Regions from separate parts of the Homo sapiens genome. Here region 1 is linked to region 2. The links are contacts of gene promoters, found by promoter capture Hi-C in human tissues and cell types (Jung and others, 2019). All regions are on one chromosome and are shown on one strand. The core of a region is centred on a gene start or on the middle of the fragment in contact, and the rest is flanking DNA. Distances in the headings are between cores, read along the strand shown. Region 1 holds the start of POLA2 (DNA polymerase alpha 2, accessory subunit). Region 2 holds the start of FOSL1 (FOS like 1, AP-1 transcription factor subunit).

Evidence for each region. Contacts are between HindIII fragments. The study calls those that stand out against the background at their distance.
Region 1: a contact is called between the fragment with the promoter of POLA2 here and the fragment with the promoter of FOSL1 in region 2, in 1 of the 25 tissues and cell types used here (dorsolateral prefrontal cortex).

Annotation. Positions count from the first base shown.
Region 1 is chr11:65,257,858-65,263,567 of GRCh38, reverse strand. POLA2 (DNA polymerase alpha 2, accessory subunit) reads right to left here and starts at 1,606. Exons shown (of 18, transcript NM_002689.4): 1 at 1,197-1,606. The coding sequence starts at 1,275. RefSeq lists enhancers at 695-1,580, 1,337-1,586, 1,581-2,468. The HindIII fragment of the contact is 14,798 bases long and covers 1-5,710 here.
Region 2 is chr11:65,896,958-65,902,800 of GRCh38, reverse strand. It overlaps FOSL1 (FOS like 1, AP-1 transcription factor subunit), which reads left to right and starts at 2,413. Exons shown (of 4, transcript NM_005438.5): 1 at 2,413-2,560; 2 at 5,795-5,843. The coding sequence starts at 2,462. RefSeq lists silencers at 2,022-2,621, 3,230-3,349, 3,315-3,542. The HindIII fragment of the contact is 4,995 bases long and covers 1,591-5,843 here.

The DNA.
Region 1 (5,710 bases), core at 357-2,856, 640 kb after region 2:
GCGTGAGCCACCACACCTGGCTAGTCTTCTTTTAAAAAGAGAAGGACCGAGCCTGCTGGCTTATGCCTGTAATCCCAGCACTTTGGAAGGCCAAGGTGGGTGGATCACTTGAGGTCAGGAGTTCGAGAGCAGTCTGGCCTACATGGTGAAACCCCTTCTCTACTAAAAGTACAAAAAAAAATTAGTCGGGCCTGGTGGCGGGCGCCTGTAATCCCAGCTACTTGGGAGGCTGAGGCAGGAGAATCGCTTGAACCTGGGAGGCGGAGGCTGAAGTGAGCCGAGATTGCACCACTGCACTCCAGCCTGGGTGATAAAACAAGACTGTCAAAAAAAAAAAAAAAAAAAAAGAGAGAGAGAGAAGGCACTGGGCATGAAGACTTGAAGTATTCTGGTTTCTGAAAGGAATTTCTCACCATAAATTAACGTTTCGTTATCTTTTTGTATATAAGAAGTTCAAAGTGTTGAGTGGTTAAGGCAGGTGCACATTCATACCGATTCTAGAACTTCCACATCTCCCAGGCTTTGCTTCAAATGACTCCTTACACTGCTCTACAGCTTGACCAACACGATGGACCCGTATGATGCAGCACGGGACTCCAAGGCAGGACACCTGGCTTCACAGACAGCTCAGGCAATTAGCTTTCCTTGTCTGTTTCTCCATCTGTAAAGCTCCCTAAAGCTCCTTCCACAGCTCAAATTCAATTTTAGGAACCTACCTCAAGGGATTCATATTTGCACAGACCACCAACAGCTATGATAAAATAACTGATGGATCAGCAGAGGTTTAAGGTGTAGGCTGGAAAGGGAGGAGCCAAGAATAAAAAGCTACATTTCAAAACCCCCACATCTGTTGCTTTGTTACCGGGGCTTCAACAATTTCCAAACTCAGGTGCCACCAGTGCCTAGTCTCTATCTAGCACATCCCAATTCCGCCTTTCGGGAACTTCGAGTTGGTTTAAAATCGTGCTGCATATTCCTATTTTTGATTTGGCATCCAAGCGGTACCCGGTGGGCATTTCAAAGTCCCCACATCCTAAATCTCAAAACTCAAGTTTGATTCTTCATCTCACAGCCACCGAGAACTCTGCTCCAGGGGAAGTGGAAATTGGAAGCGCTCCACTTTCGGTTCTAGGCGCCGAGGAACTCGGGCGAGAGCGTGGAGCACGGCTGCAGGGCGGGAGGGGTGCGGGACTCACATTTCTCAATTAGAGCCTCCTCGCAGTCTAGGCCGAAGATCTGCAGCTCCTCCGCCAGCTGCTGGGCGGATGCGGACATGGTCGCCCAAGCCAGGGGCCGGGGAGCCGGCCCACCCAGCTCCGACCTGCGCCCAAGAAGCCCACGGGGGTGGCGAGCGATGAGCTCCTCGCCCTCTTATCCTTCCCCCCTCCGCGGACCGTGACAGGAGGTGACTGGCCCAAGCAAGACCTCAGACCGTCAGAAGGCCCCGGCCGTCGGTCACAGAGAAATACTTTTTTTAAAAAATGAAGGGGTGGCTCCCAAACGCCCTGAATGGAGGGAGCAGAAATCTCGAGAGGACGCTCTCCTGGTGAGAACGTCCTGCTTCCCAAAAGCTACCGCTGAGCTTCTCAGTGACGGTGGCAGAACTGAGTGGCCGGAAAAACCCGCCAAATGGTTTGTGCAGTGCACGCATGCGCGAAACCGGGAGCCAACCCCAAACCTTCCCCTTGCTTTCCCCGGCTCATTCCGGAACCCCACGCGCGCACGCGCGGCCCAGGGCGCGTGCGCATCAGCGGGCGTGTGGGCGTCTCTACGCACGCGCCTGGCGGCCCGCCAGTCAGCAGCTGCGCAGTTCTCTCTCACGGCGCGAGAATGCCGGTTGTGACTCGCAACGCCCGGGAGTTGCCTACAAGGAAACTGAGTCTGTGTGCGGATGCCTGTTTTCTGGGCATCGGCTGCTCGATAAAACTCAGTGGCGCATGTTTGTCACCCTTTTGCCCTGTTCCGTGGTGCGCAGGCGTTGTCGTGCGCGTGCCTTCGACTATCTAAAACTTACTGTACCCCCTTCTCCATTCCCCTTGTCATCTCTGCCTGTTGTGCCCTTGGTTCATCCTAAAAGAATGGCTTCAGTAGGGAATCTGGTTGCCATGGTTATTATCGTGCTTATCACCGTGGTGCCAGCCACAGTGATGGGTATGTTTTCTGAATCTGGGGCATTTGGGGGGATATGAGGTGGGAAGGTGACGGATAATTTAGTTTTGGACACGTTAAGTTTGAGTGCCTCTGGGATTTCCAGGTAGAGATTCCCAGTGGGTGACTGGAGGCTTGGGAGTGAAGGTAGGTCACTCAAGGATAGAGTTTAGGGGTAAGATGAGAAGAGGGTTCTCCCCTTGAAATACACCGTAATTCTTTGAGCCAAAAATCTCAACCGTAGGCGTCATACAATGCTGGTGGGATGGTATAGAGCGTTTCGAGAAAACAATTTAGCAATATGTATCAGGAACCTTTAAAATGTCCATCCCAGGCCAGGTGCGGTCACTCACGCCTGTAATCCCAGCATTTGGGAGGCCGAGGCAGGCGGATCACTTTGTAGCAGGACGAGCCACAGACAAAACTCCTCAGACACCCGAGTTAAAGAAGGAAGGGGTTTATTCGGCTGGGGTCATCGGCAAGACTCCTGTCTCACCAGCCGAGCTCCCCGAATGAGCAATTCCTGTCCCTTTTAAGGGCTCACAACTCTAAGGGGGTGCGCCTGAGAGGGTCGTGATCAATTGAACAAGCAGGGGGTACGTGACTGGGGGCTGCATGCACCAGTAATTAGATCAGAACAAAACAGGATAGGGATTTTCACAGTGCTTTTCTATACAGTGTCTGTAATCTATAGATAACATAACTGATTAGGTCAGGGGTCCATCTTTACCAAGCCTAGGGTGTGAGGCCGGGCTGTCTGCTTGTGGATTTCATTTCTGCCTTTTAGTTTTACTTTTTCTTTCTTTGGAGGCAGAAATTGGGCGTAAGACAATATGAGGGGTGGTCTCCTCCCTTAACTTGAGCCCAGGAGTTCAAGATCGGCCTGGGCAACGTGGCGAAACCCCTTCTCTACAAAAAATTAGCGGGCGGTGGTGGCGGGTTCTTGTGATCTCAGCCACTCTGGGGGCTGAGGCTGGAGGAGCGCTTGAGTTCGGGAGGTCGAGGCTGAAGTGAGTCATGATCGCCTCACTGCACTCCAGCCTGGGCGACAGAGCAAGATCGTGTCTCAAAAAGCAAACAAAGGCCGGGTGCGGTGGCTCACGCCTGTAATCCCAGCACTTTGGGAGGTCGAGGCGGGAGGATCACGAGGTCAGGAGATCGAGACCATCCTGGCTAACACGGTGAAACCCCGTCTCTACTAAAAAAAAAAAAAAGAAAAAAAAAAGAAAGCCTAGCGTGGTGGCGAGCACCTGTAGTCCCAGCTACTTGGGAGGCTGAGGCAGGAGAACGGCGTGAACCCGGGAGGCGGAGCTTGCAGTAAGTCGAGATTGTGCCACTGCACTACAGTCTGGGCAACAGAGCGAGACTCCGCCTAAAAAAAAAAAAAAGCAAACAAAAACCGAAGTATGTGTGACCTCTAGTCAGCCAATGGCTGCTTGGCTGTATTTTGAATTTAGGCCTAGTTAGCCACTCCGGATCCATCATGAACCTCTTTTGGGGTTCACACCCTTAAGCCTCAAATATTTACTCTCTGGCTCTTTACGGAAAATGTTTGCAGTTTCCCACCATCAGCAATAACCAATGGATATCAAATGTGTTACATACATATTTTTCCCAACCTGTCTTTTAACTTTGTGGGTTTTTTTTTCTACCACACAACACTGTGCAATTCTTTTCCTGTATGGGTTTTAGGTTTCCTGCTTTGTTTAATAAGGTCTCCTCGACCTAAGCTTATGCAAATATTCTTCCAATTTTTGTTTTATTAATTTTACTTACGTTTTGCCTTTAGTTCGCTAATCCACCTAGAATTAATCTTATTTGTGATGTGAGGAAGGATTTAGCTTTGTTTTATTCCTGACAAACAGCCAGCATGTCAGCAGTTATACTTAGTAAATAAAACATTCTTCAACTGACTTGAATTGTGATCTTTCATGTATCAAGTCCCCATAAACACTTGAATCTGTTTCTGGATTTTCTGTTTTATTCCACTGATTTATTTGTTGTCTTTTCTGTGTCAATATATTTTGATTGCAGGAGTAAATCAAGTGGGTTTTAGATCTGTGACATAGCCAAGTCCTAAAACAATAGTAGCTGAGACAAAATAGAAGTTTATTTCTCTCGTCAGATAAAATAATTTCAGAGATAGGTAGCCCAGGGCTAAAATGGTGGCTTCACGTTCATCAGGCCTCCATCGTTCCACTCCACTGTCCTCGAATTAATCTCCATCCTTACAGTCACCTCATTGTCCAAGATGGCTTCTGGAATTCCAGCCATCAGATTCACATTCCATTCCAGGTAGCAGAAAGTAGGAAGAAGAAAGGGCAAATAAAATTTTAAAAACATAAAGCAAGAAAAGAGAGTGAAAAGAGAAATGAAATGAAAAGGGAAAAAAGAAACAAAAAAATGACTTTTGCAAACCGTTGTCTATACATTTTTGAAGAGGAGTCTTTCTAGAAGTCCTTCCCAACCACTTTTGCTTATACTTTAGCCACATAGCCATACCTTTAAAGGAGGCTGGGAAAGCCTCCTTATAGGTTTAAAAGTTATATTGTAATATTATTGAGGAAACACATTGCTACCCCATCAATATACAAATTTTGTTACTAAGAAAGGAGTTAATACTAGGTAAGCACTTAGTAGTGTTTGCCCCAGGTAGCTTTACAGTAACTTCCCAAAACTGTTGAAGCATTTTACTATTTTTTTTGGGGGGGGACAGGATCTTACTTTGTTGCCCAGGCTGGAATGCAGTGGTGTGATCAAGCTCCCTGCAGCCTCAATCTCCTGGGTTCAAGCCATCCCCCCACCTCAGTCTCCTAAGTAGCGGGGACTACAGGCACGCACCACCACACCTGGCTGTTTTTTTGTTTTTGTTTTTGTTTTTGTTTTTGTTTTTGAGACAGTGTCTCATTCTGTTGCCCAGGCTGGAGTGCAGTGGAGCGATCTCGGCTCACTGCAACCTCCGCCTCCCAGATTGAAGCGATTCTCATGCCTCAGCCTCCCGAGTAGCTGGGAATGCAAGCGCCCATCACCACACCCAGCTAGTTTTGTATTTTTAGTAGGGATGGGGTTTCACCATGTTGGCCAGGCTGGTCTCAAGCTCCTGACCTCAGGTGATCCACCAGTCTCGGCCTCCCAGAGTGCTGGGATTACACCACCACGCACACCTGGCTAATATTTTTGTTTTTTAATAGAGACAAGGTCTTGCTGTGTTGCCCAGGCTTGTCTGGAACTCCTGGGCTCAAGCAATCCTCTTGCCTTGGCCTCCCAAAGTGCTGGGATTACAGGTGTGAGTCACTGTGCCTGGCCTAGTTTTTAGGAAACCATTTTAAACTTTTAAAGTCATTTTATACAGTATATCCTATCCCCCTCCATTCTGATAGGAAGGACTTAAATATTTTTATATATTTAGGAGAAATGAATACTTTAAGCATTCCAAACAGGATCCTGGTATATCTCTTCATTTTTTTAGGCTTTTTGTCTTTGTCTATCAATCCAATTTTATAGTTTTTCCCATATAGACCCTGTTTTTGTTCAATTTATTGACACAATATCTTCTGTTGCT
Region 2 (5,843 bases), core at 1,164-3,663:
CACCATGCCCAGCTAACTTTTGTATTTTTGGTAAAGACGGGGTTTCTCCATGTTAGTCAGGCTGGTCTCGAAATCCTGACCTCGTGATCCACCTGCCTCAGCCTCCCAAAGTGCTGGGATTACAGGCGTGAGCCACGGCACCCAGCCTATGTGTCAAATTCTTACTATGTGCTGTGCTAAGCATGTGACATTACTTGTGTCCTCCAACAACCCTTGAGATAGTTATCATTATGTCTCCATTTCACAGATAATGAAAGAGGCTCTGAGAGATTGTGTGCCTCACCTAGGTCACACAACTGGTGAGCAGCCTAACCACATTCAAACCCAGACCCCAGAGCTGTCTGACCCCAGCACGGGTGTTCTGTCCACGGATCATACTGCCTCAAAAACACTCTCCTCTCCTTTCTCTCTCTCTTTCTCTCTCTCTCTCTCTCTCTCTCACACACACACACACACACACACACAGAGATGATGATGACAAGAGGGTGACAAGCATTGGGTCGCTCAAAGGCAAAGGAGAGGCACCAGGCTGGTAACCACTTTCTGAGTGCATAACACTTTATAGCTTACAAAGCATTTTCACATCTGTGATCTCACTTGATCCCACAACAGCTCTGTGAGATCAGCAGGGAGGCCCAGTTGAAGGAAGGTGACCTGCCCAGTGTCACACAGACAGAAAATGGTAGCTCTGGGACTAGAACCCCAGGGGCAATCTGGACTTCCTGGCTCTAAGTCCTGAGTGCACCCACAGGCTTCTGGCCTGTGTTCCCAAGGAAAGTAGCCCAGAGGGCAAAGCTAGAGCTGATGAAATGGAAGGACCGATGGAGAAGCAGGAGAGCCCAGCCCTCTCTTGATCTATTTACTTTGAGTCTTGCTCTGTCCCCCAGGCTGGACTGCAGTGGCGCAGTCACAGCTCACCGCAGCCTCAACCTCCCTGGCTTAAGCCATCCTCCCGCCTCAGCCTCCAGAACAGCTGGGACCACAAGGCAGGCGTACCACCATGTCCAGAAAATTTTATAATTTTTTGTAGAGATGGGGTCTCAAATGGTTCTTTCTGCCTTGGCCTTCCAAAGTGCTAGGATTACAAGCATGAGCCACCACACCTGGCCCCAGCCCTCTTTCTGTAGTCGTGTGACAACTGACAGCTCAGTACTCCATCTGGGCCTCAGTTTCCTCATCTATGATGGAAGTAATCAGAGAGAAGCTTTGGGATGGTGCCCAGCACTAACATTCTGGATGTGCGACAAGGTGTCTGTGAAGGTGTAAGGGCTTTGAAAATCTTGGCTGAGCCTGGGCTTGGAGTGCCCACGGCTGTGACTTGGCAACCTGTGCCAGCTACTCACTTAGCGACTTCAAGCAATTCATTTCAGCATCTCCCAGCCTCAGTTTCCCCATCTGTAAAACAGAGATGAGGATGATACCTGCCTCACATTCACTCACCTTTGACATACTCTCCAAACAAGTCTGGTGGCCACAAGCCTCCGAAAGGCACTGACCGTAATGAAGATGGCGTTTATCAGACCTCAGGACACCTGTAGTGGCCCTGAATTAAAACTCGTTATAGCTCCTGAAATTATCCTGAGTAATACTATTATATTGCATTTTATGTGGGGTTAGTTCAAAGCATTACCTTATCGCAAACATTTAAAATATACCACCCAGCCTGGGCAATACGGCGAGACCCAATCCCTACAAAAAACACAAAAATTACCTGGGTGTGGTGACGCGCGCCTGTAGTCCCACTTACTTGGAGGGGGCGCTGAGGCAGGAGAATCCCTTTAGCTCAGGAAGTTGAGCCTGCAGTGCGCCGAGATCGAGCCACTGCACTCCAGCCTGGGTGACAGAGACCCGGTCTCAAAAATATAAAGTAAAATAAAATATGCCACCATTTTTGTAACCCTGGTTTGTCATTTATTCACTTTTCATATACTCGAAGCCTTAAAACAAGGCCAGTGGAAAGACCTCACTCCACGAAGCTTTGGGTGGCGGTTGGCGTGGCTCCTAGAGATGTGATTCTTTCGTGCTATTTTGTGGGAGCAGAAACGGAGGTTAGCCCAGGCCTCGAGAGGGCTGGGGCGGGGCGCGGGCTCTGGCAGGTGCGTCAGTCCGCAGGGGAACCCGGGGCTCCACCTGGGCGCGGCGAGGAAGTTACACCATGTATGGGCAGCTACGTCAGGGGGGCGGGCCCGCAGCCTCCGGGGAACGCCGAGCCGGGCCCATCCCGGTGAAAAGGCTGCAGCCGGACTTGGGGAGGCGTCGCCAAGTTCGGGACCGACGGGCCAAGGCGGCGCGTCTCGGGGGTGGAGCCTGGAGGTGACCGCGCCGCTGCAACGCCCCCACCCCCCGCGGTCGCAGTGGTTCAGCCCGAGAACTTTTCATTCATAAAAAGAAAAGACTCCGCACGGCGCGGGTGAGTCAGAACCCAGCAGCCGTGTACCCCGCAGAGCCGCCAGCCCCGGGCATGTTCCGAGACTTCGGGGAACCCGGCCCGAGCTCCGGGAACGGCGGCGGGTACGGCGGCCCCGCGCAGCCCCCGGCCGCAGCGCAGGCAGCCCAGCAGGTGAGTGGGGCCCGACGCCGGTGGTCCCACGGGAGGACCGCGCGTGGGAGGCCGGGGTCAACTCCCGCACGCTCCGGGACTGGAGCGGGGAACCGGAGTCGGGGCCGGGCTGGGGGCTGGGGCGAGGATCCTGCCCCTCGCCGTCCGGGGCCAGTTGCCCCCACCGCGCAGCGGGCAGCAGAGACCCGCGAACTCCCCTTCTCCCAGCCGCCCCCTTCTCCCTCGCCGTCCGCGTCCGTCCCTCCGTCTCCGTGCCCGCTTTCTCTCCTCCTGCCCACCTCTGACTTCTGCGTCCACCCTGCTTCAGAAGGGGCGTGGGCGCCTAGGGTGGTCGCCTCGAAGGCTAGGAGGGTCTCTCCGCTTCGGGCTGAATTCCTGGGATCTGGAGTCTGGGCTGGGGTGAGGGTCCCCACACGGGAGGGAGGCGGGATCCGTCGGGAGAGCAGCTGGGCCAGGGTGGGAGTCCCGGCCCGGTCTGCGACCCTCCGCGTGTCCGTCCGTCTGTCTGTCCTTCGCCCCTCCGTCGCCAAGTCCCTATCGTTTCTCGGCCTGGGGAGTCCAGGGGGGTCCGGGCAGTGGAACCTGCCAGGTCCCCGGAGACCGGCCCTCGATCCCTTTGCCGAATGCGGCGAATAGAGACCTCGAGGTTCCGGGACGTGCGCGGGGTCAGGCTGCGGGCGACTCTCGCGACCCCACTCTCAGCCCCTAACGGCGCCCGCTGCCCGCCGGGGGGCACCCGGGAGGCTGCAGGTGCCCATTTCCTGTCGAGGGGCTGCGAGCACGTGTCGACAGGGGAGGGAAGGAGGGGCGTCCGTTCCGCCGAGTCACGGCGGCCGAGTCACGGCGGCTGAGTCACCCGGGGCGTCCCTCCCTTCCTGGCCTGGAGCGGCCCGGGCCCGGGAGTGGGAGATGCCGCCGGCGGTGCCTCGGACCCGGAACTGGGGTCACTGGGACGCCGGGCCCGCAGCGCTTGGGCTCGGGCTACCGCTGTCGGGACTTGCCTGGGCTTGTGGGCGCTTCCCGGACGATTGGGCGCCCACACCCAGGGCCCAGCGGCAGAGCTAGAACCCACTTCTCCCAGAACACTGAGCCCCATCCCAACCCACTCCTCAGATAGCTGGCTGATAGAATGGGAACAGGGACGTTGTGCTGGGCGCTTGCTACATCATTTACCATATTTCACGGAATCGAAGACCTCATCGATTGAAAAAAAAACCCACTATAACTTTATGCCACTAATTTTCTTTCCTTCTCTTTCTTTTCTTTTTTTTTTTTTTTCTGAGACAGGGTCTCCCTCTGTTGCCCAGACTATAGAGCAGTGGTGCAATCACAGCTCACTGCAGCCTCAGCCTCCTGGGCTCAAGCAATCCTACTGAGATCCTAGCTGGGAAGCGACCTGGCCACAGGCACGCACCACCACACCCAACTAATTTTTTAATTTTTTTGTAGAAATGAAGTCTCACTGTGTTGCCCGGTGTGACCTCAAACTCCTGAGCTCAAGTGATCCTTCTACCTCAGCCTCCCAAAGTGCTGGGTATGAGCCACCATGCCTAGTCCACTAAAATTTTTTAAATTGCCAATTAAACTATGATTTCAGAGCTATTAAAGGGTACTTCTTAACATCAGTGAAATCCTGTAATCCTCACCTGTAACAATATTAAAAATGAGGAAACTGAGGCACATGGAGGTTAAATAACTTGCCCATGGTCACACAGCCAGTAAGTAGCTGAGAGCTGAGATTAGAATTGGGACAGCCTGCCATGCCAGGTGGCTAAAGCCTGTCATCTCAACACTTTGGGAGGCTGAGGTGGGTGGACTGCTTCAGCTCAGGAATTTGAGACCACCCTGGGCAACCTAGTGAGACCCTGTCTCTACAAAAAAATTTAAAAAAAATTAGCCAGGCCGTGCGCGGTGCCTCATGCCTATAATCCCAGCACTGTGGGAGGCCAAGGCGGGTGGATCACCAGAGGTCAGGAGTTCAAGACCAGCCTGGCCAACATAGTGAAACCCTGTCTCTACTAAAAATACAAAAATTAGCCGGGCACAGTTGTGGGCGCCTGTAGTCCCAGCTACTCGGGAGGCTGAGGCAGGAGAATTGCTTGAATCCAGGAGGTGGAGGTTGCAGTGAGGCGAGATCGGGCTACTGCACTCCAACCTGGGTGACAAAGCAAGACTGTGTCTCAAAAAAAAAAAAACAGAAAAGAAAAAAAAAATTAGCCAAATGTGGTGGTGCACGTCGGTAGTCCCAGCTACTTGGGAGGCTGAGGTGGGAGGATTGCTTGAGCCCGCAGGTCACTGCACTCCAACCTGGGTGAAAGAGTGAGACCCTGTCTCAAGAAAAAAAAAAAAAAAAGCAATGGAATGGCCTGAACCCAGAGCAGTGACTCTTTCCTGCCTCAGCCCCTCTGCACTGGGCACCTGCCACTTACCAGACTGTCGCACACATTCTCTCACCTGATTCTCACAGCCTCCCCTTGAGCTGGGAGCTGTAATTATCCTCTTCGTGCAAACGGGTGCAGGAGTGGGTAAGAGCCCAGCTGCTGGGCTCATTGGCTCTGTGTCTGCGGACAACTGTTCTCCCGTCTGAAAATGAAGATACTAGGCTGGGCGCTGTGGTTCACGCCTGTAATCCCAGCACTTTGGGAGGCCGAGGCGGGTGGATCACCTGAGGTTGGGAGCTGGAGACCAGCCTGGCAAACATGGTGAAACCCTGTCTCTACCACAAATACAAAAATTAGCCGGGCATGGTGGTGCACGCCTATAATCCCAGCTACTCAGGAGGCTGGGGCAGGAGGATCACTCGAACCTGGGAGGCGCAGGTTGCAGTGAGCTGAGATCGTGCCACTACACTCCAGCCTGGGCAACAGAGTGAGACTCCATCTGAAAAAAAAAAAAGAAAAAAAAGAAAGAAAAGAAAATGAAGATATTACTGTGCCAATGATATGAGTCAGTATTTGTAAAGTGGTTAGAACAGTTCCTGGCAGTTTGTGCTTTATAAATGTTAGTTCTAATGGGGAAATGGGGGCACAGAGAGGTTATGTGACCTGCCCCAAAGCCACACAGCTTATGAGCAGGGATTTGCCACCAGGTCAGTCTCTGACTGCCAAGCTGTGCTCTTTCTGTTCCCAGAGCTAGCCTGTACATTGAAGGTAGACAGCAGTGTAGCCTCTGCCCAGTGGAAGCCCCTCAATCCACACGGACCTCATCTGTGGCCTTCCATTTCTTATTCCTTAGAAGTTCCACCTGGTGCCAAGCATCAACACCATGAGTGGCAGTCAGGAGC